Linked DNA regions of Homo sapiens: all the other regions are linked to region 1. Evidence: promoter capture Hi-C in 16 types of primary human blood cells and fetal thymus (Javierre and others, 2016). All regions are on one chromosome and are shown on one strand. Each heading gives the region's core, a stretch centred on a gene start or on the middle of the fragment in contact. The rest is flanking DNA. Distances are from core to core; before and after follow the strand shown.

Evidence for each region. The method cuts DNA at HindIII sites, captures the fragments that hold promoters and counts their contacts. A CHiCAGO score of 5 or more calls a contact.
Region 2: a contact is called between a fragment that was not itself captured here and the fragment with the promoter of GRM5-AS1 in region 1, in 7 of 17 cell types (total CD4 T cells, monocytes, total CD8 T cells and 4 more). The highest score is 6.5, in total CD4 T cells.
Region 3: a contact is called between a fragment that was not itself captured here and the fragment with the promoter of GRM5-AS1 in region 1, in 2 of 17 cell types (activated CD4 T cells and M1 macrophages). The highest score is 5.5, in activated CD4 T cells.
Region 4: a fragment that was not itself captured here is called in contact with the fragment with the promoter of GRM5-AS1 in region 1 in 8 of 17 cell types (activated CD4 T cells, monocytes, total CD8 T cells and 5 more); the score reaches 10.5 in activated CD4 T cells.
Region 5: a fragment that was not itself captured here is called in contact with the fragment with the promoter of GRM5-AS1 in region 1 in 4 of 17 cell types (activated CD4 T cells, monocytes, total CD8 T cells and 1 more); the score reaches 6.0 in activated CD4 T cells.

Annotation. Positions count from the first base shown.
Region 1 is chr11:88,503,228-88,505,927 of GRCh38, reverse strand. GRM5-AS1 (GRM5 antisense RNA 1) reads right to left here and starts at 1,352. Exons shown (of 6, transcript NR_049724.1): 1 at 1-1,352. It overlaps GRM5 (glutamate metabotropic receptor 5), which reads left to right. Exons shown (of 10, transcript NM_001143831.3): 10 at 1-1,286. The HindIII fragment of the contact is 8,959 bases long and covers 1-2,505 here.
Region 2 is chr11:88,165,829-88,168,528 of GRCh38, reverse strand. The region is part of intron 1 of RAB38 (RAB38, member RAS oncogene family); the gene reads left to right. Among named protein-coding and RNA genes, the nearest start is that of RAB38, 8.3 kb to the left of the region's middle. The HindIII fragment of the contact is 1,431 bases long and covers 584-2,014 here.
Region 3 is chr11:88,204,913-88,207,612 of GRCh38, reverse strand. No RefSeq gene overlaps it. Among named protein-coding and RNA genes, the nearest start is that of MIR3166, 30 kb to the right of the region's middle. The HindIII fragment of the contact is 1,595 bases long and covers 617-2,211 here.
Region 4 is chr11:88,148,778-88,151,478 of GRCh38, reverse strand. It overlaps RAB38 (RAB38, member RAS oncogene family), which reads left to right. Exons shown (of 3, transcript NM_022337.3): 2 at 1,524-1,804. Among named protein-coding and RNA genes, the nearest start is that of RAB38, 25 kb to the left of the region's middle. The HindIII fragment of the contact is 1,070 bases long and covers 760-1,829 here.
Region 5 is chr11:88,227,929-88,230,628 of GRCh38, reverse strand. No RefSeq gene overlaps it. Among named protein-coding and RNA genes, the nearest start is that of MIR3166, 53 kb to the right of the region's middle. The HindIII fragment of the contact is 414 bases long and covers 1,236-1,649 here.

The DNA.
Region 1 (2,700 bases), core at 103-2,602:
ACTCTACAGTACAAAGAGAACTGAATATTCATTCTAGGGCTATAGGATATGAACTTCACAATTCATTTGGGTACATTCTCATTGAATTTCCTTCAAAACAATCTGTTCCTGGTGCCCAGTGATAATTCAGTCGGGACCAGCATGACTAAAAGGAAGGGGATATGCTAAGGCTCAGCAAAGTGACCCTAAATGAGAGATATGTCCCAGGATGGAAAGAAGAAGACGTGGTTTAACCAAGTTATACTGACTAATCTAAGCAGTCCACTCATCCTTCCATTTTGGGAAAGGAGTGGGGGCAGCCTAAGAAGAACATATCTGGATTGGGAAGAACCGTCTTTCTGGGCTAGGGATGGGGAACAGAAAGGGAGTATGGAAAGAAAAATTATAAGAGATTTGACTGAAGCAAGGAAAAAAAGCAAATCCCCAAACGTGCTAATCCTTGAAAGTAACTATCTTTCCCAAACTACTGCTGTTACCAGCAAGTGATCAGGAAGACTAGGAGCTATTTCTGACTGTAAATGAATTGTATAATAGCTCTGCTGCAGTTCTGTGACTTCCAAGCCAGGAATTAAATGCTCTTTTTAAGAATAACAAAAAACAAAAGCATTTCCTATGCTAGTCTCCCAGTAAAATGTACATGTTTTGGAGACTTCAAAGGTATTATGTGAGTTCACATTTAGCAACAGCTTATTAATAACCCTCAAGCTGTCAGAATCTCTATAGTTACCATTTACAATTTTATACTGTGAAAAAATACAGATCAGTGAAAGCATAAAGACAAGTCAGAATTCACTTTGAAGAGGGTCTGAGGCCTGGGAGAGTCTCTACTGTCTATTGAAGAATGAGGCATGTATAAAATAGTTGGTTGAATTTCACTGATCTTCCCAATGTGAACAAATATACTATGTATATTGTGTGTATTTCTAGAAATCAATGGCAGCTGCTGATGGTGTTGTAATTAGAAATCTATATAGATTATAGATGTTTTAGAAAGATGGTGCCAATCCTAAAAGATTTGTGTGGGCTAAAAGTGCTTGTACTTACTTTTTTCTGCACTTATAACTGATTTGGTTTTAAAATTGTGTGCGTGTATCTGTTCTTTCTCTGTTGTGGCAGCTTGTACTATTAAAATAATAGAGAATGTTAAATTATTTTGATGTGAACTGCAAATGATTTTTTTTCATAAAGTTTAACATTTTTATCAGCATTGTTTTGCTTTGTACTTGTATAAATATGTTTTATTTTAGCACTTCAAAATATACTTGCCTGTTTCTCAGTTGTCTAAATCATGTTGTACTTGGTGTTTGTGAAGCCAGTTACTTTTCAAAAAAATTAAAAAACCTATAATATGATTTTAAGATTATTCCCCTCAAATGTTTAGAATGTTGTCTTAATAGTGTTTTCTGAGATGAAAAGAGCCATGATACTAATTAATCTTGAATACTGGATGATCTATACATTTGAATTATGGGGTTTACAAAGTAAGCAGTGGACTGTATAGATTTAAATGAAAATATAAACCAACCACAAACCAACCAGAGATGTTGTCCCCAAACACATCTACAAACAACTGTTACATAAAGAAGTACTTAAAAAAATATATAGGAAATATGCATTGTTTATGCATCTAGACATACAAATTATAGAAATAGTTTCATAATTATATGTGTTGATAGAGGTAACATCACACAGATAAAATAGATTATTTGTGTGTGTATAGATGTGTGTTTACAAACATACATATTTATATAGACATTTGACTTTTGAGTCCATCTGCATGTGTCTCTGTGTATATGTGTGTTTGTGTGTAGATGTATGTGCATATTACATAATTTTTCCAGAAAAAAAAAAAGTTTTACTTTGACTGATTCTTGAGCAAATATACATTCCCTGGACACAAATTAGTGAAAAACTAACAGCAGAATATAAGGTAGATGCTTGATGTATGGAAGAGAAAAACAAGGTATATTTAAAAATATATTTGATTTATGCTTCTGACATTGTATTAAATGCATAATGATATATATACATATGTAGATACATATATTATACAGAATGTGTTTGATCTTAACAAAGAAAGCCATTTTATCTGTTTTGTCAGACTCTTCCCTTCAGTATCTTTTATTCTAACGTGATATGAATGGTAATATGTTCACATAAAATTGAGGATGAAGTGACATATACAAACCAGGTACAGGAAATTACCTTCTAAAAATCCAAAGAGCCTTATCAGACTCCATCAAATTATGGAAGGCCATTTAAAACCAGCGGATGCAATAGAAATAGCATTGAATTAAAAGCCAGGATCTCTTACCTGTCACCAACTGACTTTGGATAAATCACTCTGATTTCTCTACAACTTGTTCCTCTTGCTTTAAATGCAGAAGTGAGTTACAATAATCTGTGAAGTTTCTATCATTTCAACATTCCTGATAAATGCTCAATAGTAGCTATTATTAGTGTCAATGTAGTATTTAGTATACAGTTAATATTCAGCAGGAAGCTTAAATTTGTTATATCAATGTTATTTGTGGAGCTTAACAAGTTCCTGTCCAACTTAAAGCATATATCCTGGAGGAAACCTATTGAGGTTTGAACTCATATGCAACCTTGGAACTGTCTATCAAGGACAACTTAGTAAATTGATATTGAACACCACAGAGAGAATGCTTTTCCTCTGTTATAATTGCTGCTGAATGC
Region 2 (2,700 bases), core at 50-2,549, 340 kb after region 1:
GCATAAAGATATTTATTTCAAAATAATTATTTAGTCATTGAAAAGTGATCTGATGGGAAAGTATCACATGCTAAAAGAAAGTCAACCAGGGGACTTACCATAGCCATAACATGGAGATGAGAAGACATCATGCGGGCTTCAGTAATCTGACCTAGCTGAAGATTACAATGTGTGAGGAAGGAGGTGTTAAGAGGGATGCGGCAGACAAATTAGGAAAGGTCATATATGCCAAATTAAATGTTAAGAACGGTGAAAGTGAAAATTCCTTACATTTATCAATTTATCAAAGCAATATTTGCAATTTAAATACCACAGTAATTCTAACAAATAGGTCTTCTTACTTCCAGTTTCATAGATGAGGAAGCTGGGCCAAGCATAAGTAGAACATGACACCTGGTACATAATTGTTGCTTAGTAAAAGTGGTTTGGTGTTAAGCAGTCACTGAGGTTCATACTAAAGCCATCACTCATCTGGTGAATTTTTGAGAATAGATGTTTTGAGTTACACTTACAATCCTTTCTCTCCCTCTTCTGATGATTCACTTTGGAGATTCCTTGAAAGCTTTCAAACCATTGAGAAGCTTTATTTATGTTACTTTCTTAGATTCTGGGATGCATATTCCCAGAAGAATACAGTGGACCTATTGCTCCTGGGGTAGGAATCAGGTTTATTCCAGCAAGGGATGATCCTTATCTTCTAGGATGGTGAATTAGACTGATGTCCTTCAACTTGGCAAGGTCAAGTCTGAGACTCTAGCCTGGGGTTCTTAATAATTGAGTTTTACTCATTTTTTCAGCTGTTCAGGAATTTAAGAAGTTACGTGATCTTAAATTACTCTTTGAAAATAATTCGGATTTTAACTTCTACTGTTCTCTCCTTCCTTTCATTGCCCACTCTCAAGTACTAATTAAATTTTGTCTTTTCTACCTTATAAAATAAATATCTCATCCATCTTTTCAATAGCCACATCTTCTTCACAACTCACCGGAACTGTTGCAGCAGTTGCCTCCTGCCCATCCCCTCCTCCAGCTTCCCTGCCAATCAGTTTGTAATCGACAGTGGTGATACCCCTCATCATGGTGTTGTTCTCCAGTTGATATTCTCATCTGGGACCCATCACTGGAGCCACAGCATTTTTAGAATTAAAGGCTGAACTTTTTAGCATGACAGTCACGACCATCATAACTGTCACTCATTTGTCATTCAGTCTTATCTCTCACATCTATGATTTTTACATTCCAGATATCTTACAGTGGCCCCAGTATACCTACCTTCCCCTTTATGCTGTGGCTCACACAGTTGTCTCTAGCTAAAAAAAAACACCTTCCTCTTGTTAACATAGATAACTCCTATGGGTCCTTTTCACTCTATCAATATCACCTCCTCCAGAATGTCTGTTGAAACCATGAGACTCAGGGAAACACTTTTTCTGCTCCCATAAAGTTCCATGATTACTCCAGATAGAAATAGTTTACTATTGCATTGGAATGTCTTTTTCCTCCAAAGTGTATCCCTGGGTCCTAACATAGTATTTGGACATGTGGTAGGAACTCAAGTAGTATTTGTTCAATAAAGTTTTTCAGTCAACTATTGTATCAATGCCTTAATTCTAAGACATATCATTGATCTAAACATTTCTTCAATAAAAAATAGACTTCTGTTCATGATTGAAAAACTTCACAACTTTATAAACATTAATATATAAAAGTATAATTTAGAATTGAGAAATATGGCAACCACTTTTCTTAAGGAGACATTCTATTTTTTTTCCAACCATGAAAACTGGGAAATGTCCTTAAATACCATTCTTAAAAGCTGTGTTTTTGCATTTAACAGTCTCCATAATTTGAAGTGAAATGTCATTCATTTGGATGTCAAATGGCAAAACTATATCTTTTTTAAAATTTAAGCGTATATTATATAAAATAATAACTTCGTGAAAGGTAATTTTACAGAATTAAAACCCTGAGTACTCATCAAAACCATATCAGTCATTTTATGGATGAGCAAGCTTGATCTGGAAGGGAGGTGACATTAGTTTCTCAGGCCCACAGAGCTTGTTAGTGGTAGAATTAGAACCAGAACACAAGATTACCTGGCTTATTACCAAGGAAGCTTGAATAATTAAAAACGTATTTTTTAATACTAGGTGTTTGGGTGCTGTCTTCAGCATTGAGTTATAATGATGATCAAATTGGGAAGGCACCCAGCCCTGTGGAAGTTCGTGCAGTGGAGAAGAGGAGATAATGGCATAGCAGTGGAGACACCCAAAGTCATCCACAGTTTGGCTTTAAATAGCATTTCTAATATCATTTTCTCCCTCCCTCCATGATGAGGTCTAAATTTCAACCATTTGAACTCCTTGCTATTCCTGGTTCATTTCCATGCTTATTGCCTCTGAGCCTTTGCTCCTGCTTGCCCTGCTGGTTCATGTCTGCTGGTTCATGTGTCCTTCCCTTTGGAAGCACATCCAAATCCTACCTGATGTCTAAGACCTATCTGAAAAGGCAGCTCCTCTACAGAGACTTTCCTAGTTCTCTCTGTCAGTAGTAACTTCTTCCTCCCTTGAGTCCCATACAACTTTTCTTTCCCTTGTTTGTAGCACTTCTCTAGTTAAGCTTTGTGTTACAGTTATTTTCTATCTATCCAAATTTCCTTCATGATTTTTAGTAAATCCTGCTGTGAGTTATTTGCTGCAT
Region 3 (2,700 bases), core at 165-2,664, 300 kb after region 1:
AGAAGGTTGAAGGGCCAGCCTTTAAACCTCTGAAAGTAAGTACAAACCTAGGCTCTTTGAACCATACCAAAGATTCTTTTTGAAATCATGGTCTTACTGGAAAGAAAAAGGAGATTATAACTCGAAGTTTCTCTGTAGTCTCTTCTGTTCCACTTGCAGCATAAAATGCATTTTAAAAGTTGAATAGCATCTCCTTTAGTAATTACATGGCCAACGAAGCTCATTTGCCTGCAGGTTGAAGGAAATCATTCTGGAAGTTTCCTTCTGGAGTATTACTTTCTCTCAACTACCAACTACATATTGAACTCACAATTGTACTGGTATGTTAGAGATCCATAGGGGAAGAAGGGTCTTAGCAAAAGTCAGTTTCCAGAAGATGTAGAGACTGTTCAGAGGCAATATTAAGAAAGTAGAGGACTAGACATAGGTTATTGAGGACAAAGTGGAAGGGTTTCAAAAGTTGAGGCCTAGGTGAGAAATGGGATCAGATGAGAGAATACAGCCCTATTAGAAGTTGAGAGTCCAGGAGACAGCAAATGACCTGGAGGTCCTGAGCTTTGAGAGGTGACTAATAGGAACAGGAATGAAGGCACAGTGGAATTCATTCCGAAAAGCTTCAAGGCAGATGATGCTAGGGTGGCTATGAATGTTGAATGGAGGGAGGAGTGGGTAGTAGATGAGGACTGAAACTAACTAAAAACAGAATGAGTCCCCTGTGGGAAAGCAACCAGTGTTTGATGATACAACAAATCACAGAAGGAGGGGAGGACACTCCCAATGAGAGAGCAAGAAACTCCTGTTGACTCATCTAAGAAATCTGAATTCAATACCCCAATTCTTCTGCCACAAACATTTGACTATCACTTATAAGTCCTTAAATTTAGCATAATGTTGCCATTTTCAGCTTCATTGTTCCAGCTATTAGATCTAAAGGAATATCACTGTCACCTGATTAATAAAATATAGTACTTCCCAGGTATGACATTTTAGTATGGCTCTCTTTTTCTTTACTAGAGGTCTATCAAAACATATTCATCTCAGTTTCAATGTAGACAATTTAAAACCTTGCTGAGTAATTTCAAGGACATGGTAAAAGATAAAATTATCTGAGAGTTAGCTTAACTGTATTCACTACTCGCATGCTTTAAGACCCATGTCTGCCTTATTGCAGTGAGCCTATTTAACCACCACAATTTTATTGCAGGATATAAGGCAAACTGTGATCAAACTACCAATCAAGGTAACCAGATGAAGTGTAAAAACTTAATGTTAACTCCATAGTTCATATAAGAACACTTTGTGATATAATTTTTCCTTCTTTGGTTTTAGGAAGAAGATGATTCTAGTTAAATAAGTTTCATACATTAAACTAGGTACATTCAAATACAAATTTGGTCCCAGTAAACATATTTTACTTTTCTAGGTAGCTTATTCTGTTACAAAATTTACAACCTGTACAGTTAGATTTTCTTTTTAATCTGGCTCTTATTTTCCGAAAGCATGTGCCATCCCTTCTGCCTAGAATAATCTCCCTACCTATTCTGTTAGAAAATTTTTTTCAGCATTTAAAACTGAATCCAATCATTTCCTTTGTAAAGGCTTCCTTGACCCTCCTATCTCCACTGCTACATCTCTGAAGTTAATCATTTCATCCTCTGAACAATTTATAGATATATTAAAAAATTACATATATAAATAAATATATATTTTTGTCGTATTATTTTACAATTCATATACATGTCTGTCTCAGTGATTATTCATGGGAATACATTATATTATTTTCATTAGTATATCCACAGAATAGTAACTGTTCTAAGTACATGCTCAATAAATTTTGTTACATTGAACTATGTTTGGGCTTGTGGACTAATTTGTCACTTCCTTAATTTTGGCCAATTTTGCAATGGTGTTTACCGAAATTAATATATATGGTTAAATACAGTGAAGATAGTCACTAATCAGATATGAATACTTCCTTAGGGCCATTAGAGTCTAGGGCAGAGAAAAAAAAGCATTGCCACCTCTGAAGTGTCTCCATTACTGGAGTTTTTTTATTGACTGAGAAATTTTTAGATGGTATATCTCCATCCTCCTTACCCCATTCTTCTTTCTCCTGGATCCTACATCTTCTGGTACTTTTCCCTTCAAAAGTTGGGCATTTCAAAAATGTAAAGGAACCCCTCTTGCCACACACTTAATTAAGAAAAAGCTTCTATGTAAGATTGTTTCTCAAACTTGAGTAAAATATAGACCTTTCTTAAAATGAAAAAAAATTTATCTATTACTAGTGTTAACTGATATTTGTTATGTTACTAAGATATGTATAAGAATAAGAAAGAGTAGGTATAAACTCATGTATTATTTTAGAACTAAACAAACCGAAACACATTTCTAAATTAAATACATAAATCTAGGACTTACTTAATTAAAATCAATATATTAATTAAATGTTATATAAATGTCACTGTTTGACATTTAAATGTCAATATTGAATTCAATAGTACAAACATGCATTTTCTTGTCTTATGCTTTACTTTTTGTGGACTTAATTTTGTTCTCTTGTACTGCCTAGGCTATTCTGTGTATATTTTCCATTATTACTATCATTTTAATTTCTTTTTTAACAGAAACATTTTTTGTAACTATGAAAATATTATTTTAGTGGACCAATTAAATTAACGATGCATAATAAAATATAAT
Region 4 (2,701 bases), core at 45-2,544, 350 kb after region 1:
TTTTGAGTTCAGAAAATACAAGTCTTCATTAGCTCCTGTCTTCAGCAACCATTAATAGACAGAGTTAGAAGTAGTAGGATTTTGTTCATTTTTGTTATTCAGCTGAAATACTTGTAATTTTTTTGTCACAAACTCTGATCTGAAACTCTGATTTCAGAACTTGTGCCATATTGTCTTTCACACTATTTAACATGCTGCCAAAAGAGAAGGAAAACTCAAGTATAAGGTACTATGCTGGGTGCTTTGCATATATTAATTCACTTCATCCACATGGCAAAACTCTGCAGTACATATTATTATTGCCAATTTGCAGATAAGGAAGAATAAACTTAGAGTGCTTAAGAAACTTGACAATATTCAATCAGAACGTTAAGCATCAGAGCAAAATTGATTCCAGCTGATTCTAATTCTGAAACCAATCCTTATCCTAAACAACAACAACAACAACAAAACTTATTTAGTGTTTTGCTGTAGGAGAGCTTTTCTTATCCAATAGGTTGTAGAGTATTTAAGGGTAGAGACTATCTAGTTTACTGTTACATTCTGAGCAAGAGTCCAGAAACTGGCATCGATATAATAGATGTCCAATAAATATCTGTTCAGTCAAATTCAAAGGGATGGTCCTCTGGTCCTGGTATCTAAGCCTGCGGAAGAGAGAGTACAAGCCTATAATTTAGTGGTTGAGAGTATTTAATGTTGGTAAAAGACTGTGAGCCCTAGATTCAAACAGCTCAGGTTTGAATTATGATTTCTTAAGCTTACTATCTGTATGATTTGAGAATGTTACTTAGACTAAGTTTCAATTTTCTCACTTTAAAATGGGGGTAATAATTGCACCTTAATGATCACTTATGTAAATCACATTTCTCATGGTTAGTAAACATGAATGAATGGTAGCTAGTATTATAACCTTTAATTGGACTAGATTGTGGATCCCTTTTAAACATACTCCATAATTTTGTTATTTATTATGTTTATTGTTTAGAGTCTGTCTTCCCATTAAAATATAATCTTCATGGTGGCAGGGATGGTTATGTTTTAATCAGAGTATCCCAAATATTTAGAACAGTGTTGCCCAATCGAATGTTCTATACTGATGGATATGTTTCATTATTGGCATAGTCTAATACAGTAGGCACTAGCGACATGCAGTTACTGAACACTTGAAATGTAGCTAGCTAGGGTGACAGAATACTTGAATTAAAAATTTTGTTTAGTTTTTGTTCATTTAATTTAAATAGCCATATGTGGCTACTGGAATACTGTATTTGCATAGGTCTAGAATATTACATGGTACACAGAAATTTCTCAGTACATATTTGTTAAATGGATGAATTCCCTTCTGAATTCAAAAATCAAGAACAAGCTACATGATTGCATATTTAGTTCGCTCTTTAAAGATTATCAGTAAAGACGAAGCACTTTACTGATTGACTTGCTCATCTTGGAGGCTTCATGAAGTTATAATATGATTCAGTTTGCAATTTTAATACATTTTTATTTTTATTTCTTTTTGGTGTCAGGTCAAGAAAGATTTGGAAACATGACGAGGGTCTATTACCGAGAAGCTATGGGTGCATTTATTGTCTTCGATGTCACCAGGCCAGCCACATTTGAAGCAGTGGCAAAGTGGAAAAATGATTTGGACTCCAAGTTAAGTCTCCCTAATGGCAAACCGGTTTCAGTGGTTTTGTTGGCCAACAAATGTGACCAGGGGAAGGATGTGCTCATGAACAATGGCCTCAAGATGGACCAGTTCTGCAAGGAGCACGGTTTCGTAGGATGGTTTGAAACATCAGCAAAGGTAATGTGACTTTAAATAATAAGCTTAATATAAGCAAGGTTCACAAAGAAAATGGCACATAATCATCACCATCATCATAATGATAATAATATGTTTGTTTAGTGATGTATGGTTTTCACATTGCTCTAAGCTCTTTCTCATCTCAGTGCAATGAGTAGGTAAGGCAGGAATTATTATCTACAATTTAAGATCATTGTGGCAAGAGGAGGAAAGCAACTTGTACAAGGTTTCAATAGTAATAGTTGATAACTATGTTTGCCTTTTGAGGTCTTACTATGAGCCAGGCATATTTTGCATGCATTTTCCTATTTAGTCCTCACCACAACTTTATTAGGTGAGTATGGTTTTATAGTAAAGGCCTTATTCATGTGTTAGTTAATTTACACAATCAATATTTAATATGTTCACCTGTACATCAGGAATTGTGCTTCCTCCTAGGAAAGAAAAGATGGCAAACACTACATTGGGCATACCGGAATAGTGGGGTAACAGAGAATAGACAGCAAGCACAAATGTGAAGAACACAGCATAGCTTGGCCATGCTGTTTCCCCTGGATGGCAGAAAAGTGGCAGGAGGTGGAGCTGAGGCAGGGCTGGAAGATGAAGGATCCTGTATGGTGTGATGAGGATAATATACTTCTCATTGTTCCCTCATGTTGCCATCTGATATGTCAGGTTCCTGGCTTTTGTTCTACTCTCTTTTTGTTTTTGCCTGTATTTAAAAAATCTCAGTATCACAGGAGAAAAAAAAAATACTTTCATGGCAAAATTTGAAAATCCATAAAAAACCATAACTAAAATTTTAAAAGAATAACCATTTTTGCTTTTGATTTTTGTGTGTGTGCATATAATTACACTGTTAGGATTGCATTTCACATGGTTTTATATCATGATTTT
Region 5 (2,700 bases), core at 193-2,692, 280 kb after region 1:
AGTAAACTGCTTTTCCCATAGCTTCTTGCCCATGCTTCTTGCCTGAAGGGACCTTACACTCCCTGGTCACAGGCCCAGAGTGCCATTCTGAGAACTTAATACTGGGCTGTGCCCCAACCTTGGGCCAAGTTTGAGGTGACATAGTTGCAGCTGCCACCCAGCTGGGAAAGGGATAAGTGAGACAAAGCTCTCCTAAGCACAGTTAGGACAATGCTTACTGCCCTGCTACAGGTGGCTGTGGGACTGGAGACTAGCCCACCCAACCCATCACAGCTTCCAGCAACAACAACATGCGTTGCTTGGGTCCCAGTGGGTTGCACCACCATTGCTACTACCATCACCCATACCACATTAGCTACCAAGGGTCCTAAGAACCCACCCACACACTGGGACCACTGCTCTTACTATTAATTTCTAAGCAAGCCACGTGAAGGCTCAAGAATCAGTCCTCCCAGACTCACAAACACTAGAGCCAGTGTAAGTTGCTCTGGGGCCTGAAAGGACCCCACTGCTACTACCACCAGAGCCTGAAGACTGATTTAGTTGGTGTCCAGGTCACTAGCTTAATTCCACCACAAACTCAACTATTAGCTGTACCCTTAGTCACTGAGGAAATCACAGAGACCACTGCCCTGTGTACTGCCAAAATATTCATACAAAGATCACACTACCATGAGCACCCAAAATCAAAGCCACAGTATCTTAACTGAATCAACAACATATACACATCCTCAGGAAAAAATTCTCCCCTATGAAAGCAATTTCAAAAACTTGGAAAAAGTGACTGCTATACAAGATGCACCAAAATCAATGGAGGGACACAGGAAACATGAAAAATCAGGGAAATATGATACCATCAAAGGACCAAAATTATCCAATAACAGATCCCAATCAAAAATAATTCCTCTTTAAAAGTTCAGATAAAGAATTCAAAATACTGATCTTAAAGAATCTCAATGAGATGCAAGATAAACCTGAAAATCAATACAAAGAAATCAGAAAATCAATCCAGGATATTAATGAGAAATTTACCAAGGAGATGAACATCATAAAAACAAATAGAATAGAAATTCTGGAATTAAAAAATTCATTGAAAGAAATAAAAAATATATCCAAAAGTTTCAATAATAGACTAGACCAAGAAGAAGCATCTCAGAACTTGAAGACAAGACTTTCAAAATAATCCTGTCAGACAAAAATAAGAGAAACAGAATAAAAAATGAATGAACAAAGCTTTCAGACATCTGGGACCAGATAAAGTGACCAAATTTACTAATTATTGGTATTGCCAAAAGTGAAGAGGGATCAAAAAGTTTAGAAAACATATTTAAGAAAATAATGAAAATTTCTCATCTATCAAGAAAGTTAGGCATCTAGATACAGGGGACACAGCAACCCCAAGGAAAATACATTGCACAAAGGACCTCACCATGGCATATTATACTCAGAATGTCTAAAGTCCAAGTGAAATAAAGAGTTTTAAAATTAGCAAGAGAAAAATATCAAGTCAACTATAAAGGAAATCCCATCAAACTAACTGTGGACTCTTCAGCAAAAGTATTACAGGCCAGAAGAGAATGAGATGGCACTTTCAAAATACTGAAAGAAAAACTTCCAGCCAATGATTTTGTATCCTGCCAGAATAAGCTTTATAAATGAAGGATAATTTAAGTCATTCTCAGACAAGAAAGAACTGAGAAAACTTGCCACTACTAGACTCTAGACTAGACCTATAGTAAATGCTCAAAGAGTCCTTAAGCAAGAAATGAAAGGTTAATATTCACCACCATGAAAACACATGGCAATATACAACTTACAGTTTGTATAAAACAATCACACAAAAGAGGAATAGAAAGATGTCAAAGATACCACAGAATTTCATTAAACCACAAAGACAAAAAGAAAAAAAAAGAATTGTTTAAAACAACTTGAAATCAATCAATAATAAGCCAGAAACAAAGCCTCACATATCAATATTAACCTTGAATGTAAATGAATAAAATGCTGCACTTAAAAGATAAAGATTGGCAGAATAGACAAAAAGCCCACAATCCAACTATATGGTACAAGAAATTCACCTTGCTGAATTAGACTGAAAGTAAAGGGATGAAAACTATATGGTACAAGAAATTCACCTTACTGAATTAGACGGAAAGTAAAGGGGTGAAAAAAGATATTCTACACAAACCAACCAAAAGTGAGTAGGAGTAGCTATGCTTATATCAGATAAAGCAGACTTTAAATCAAAAACAGTAAAGAAAGAAGATGAAGGAGGCCATTATGTAATGATAAAGGGATCAATTCAGCAAGAGGATATAACGATCCTAAGTATATATGCATACAACATTGGAGCACCTATATTTACCAAACAAATATTACTAGACCAAAAGAAAGAGACAGACAGCAATGCAATAACAGTAGAGAGTTTTAATATCCCACTAACAGCACTAGACAGATCATTGAGGTAGAAACTTAACAAAGAAACATTGGCCTTAAATTGGACTTCAGAACAAATTGACTTAATAGACATTTATAAAACATTCTACCTAATAAATAGAGAATATGCATTATTTTCACAATCGCATGGAATATTCTCTAAGATAGACCAAATATTAGGCCAAAAATAAGTATTAACAGATTGTAAAAAATCAAAATCATATCAAGTACTTACTCAGATTACACTGGAATAAAGTCAGAAAT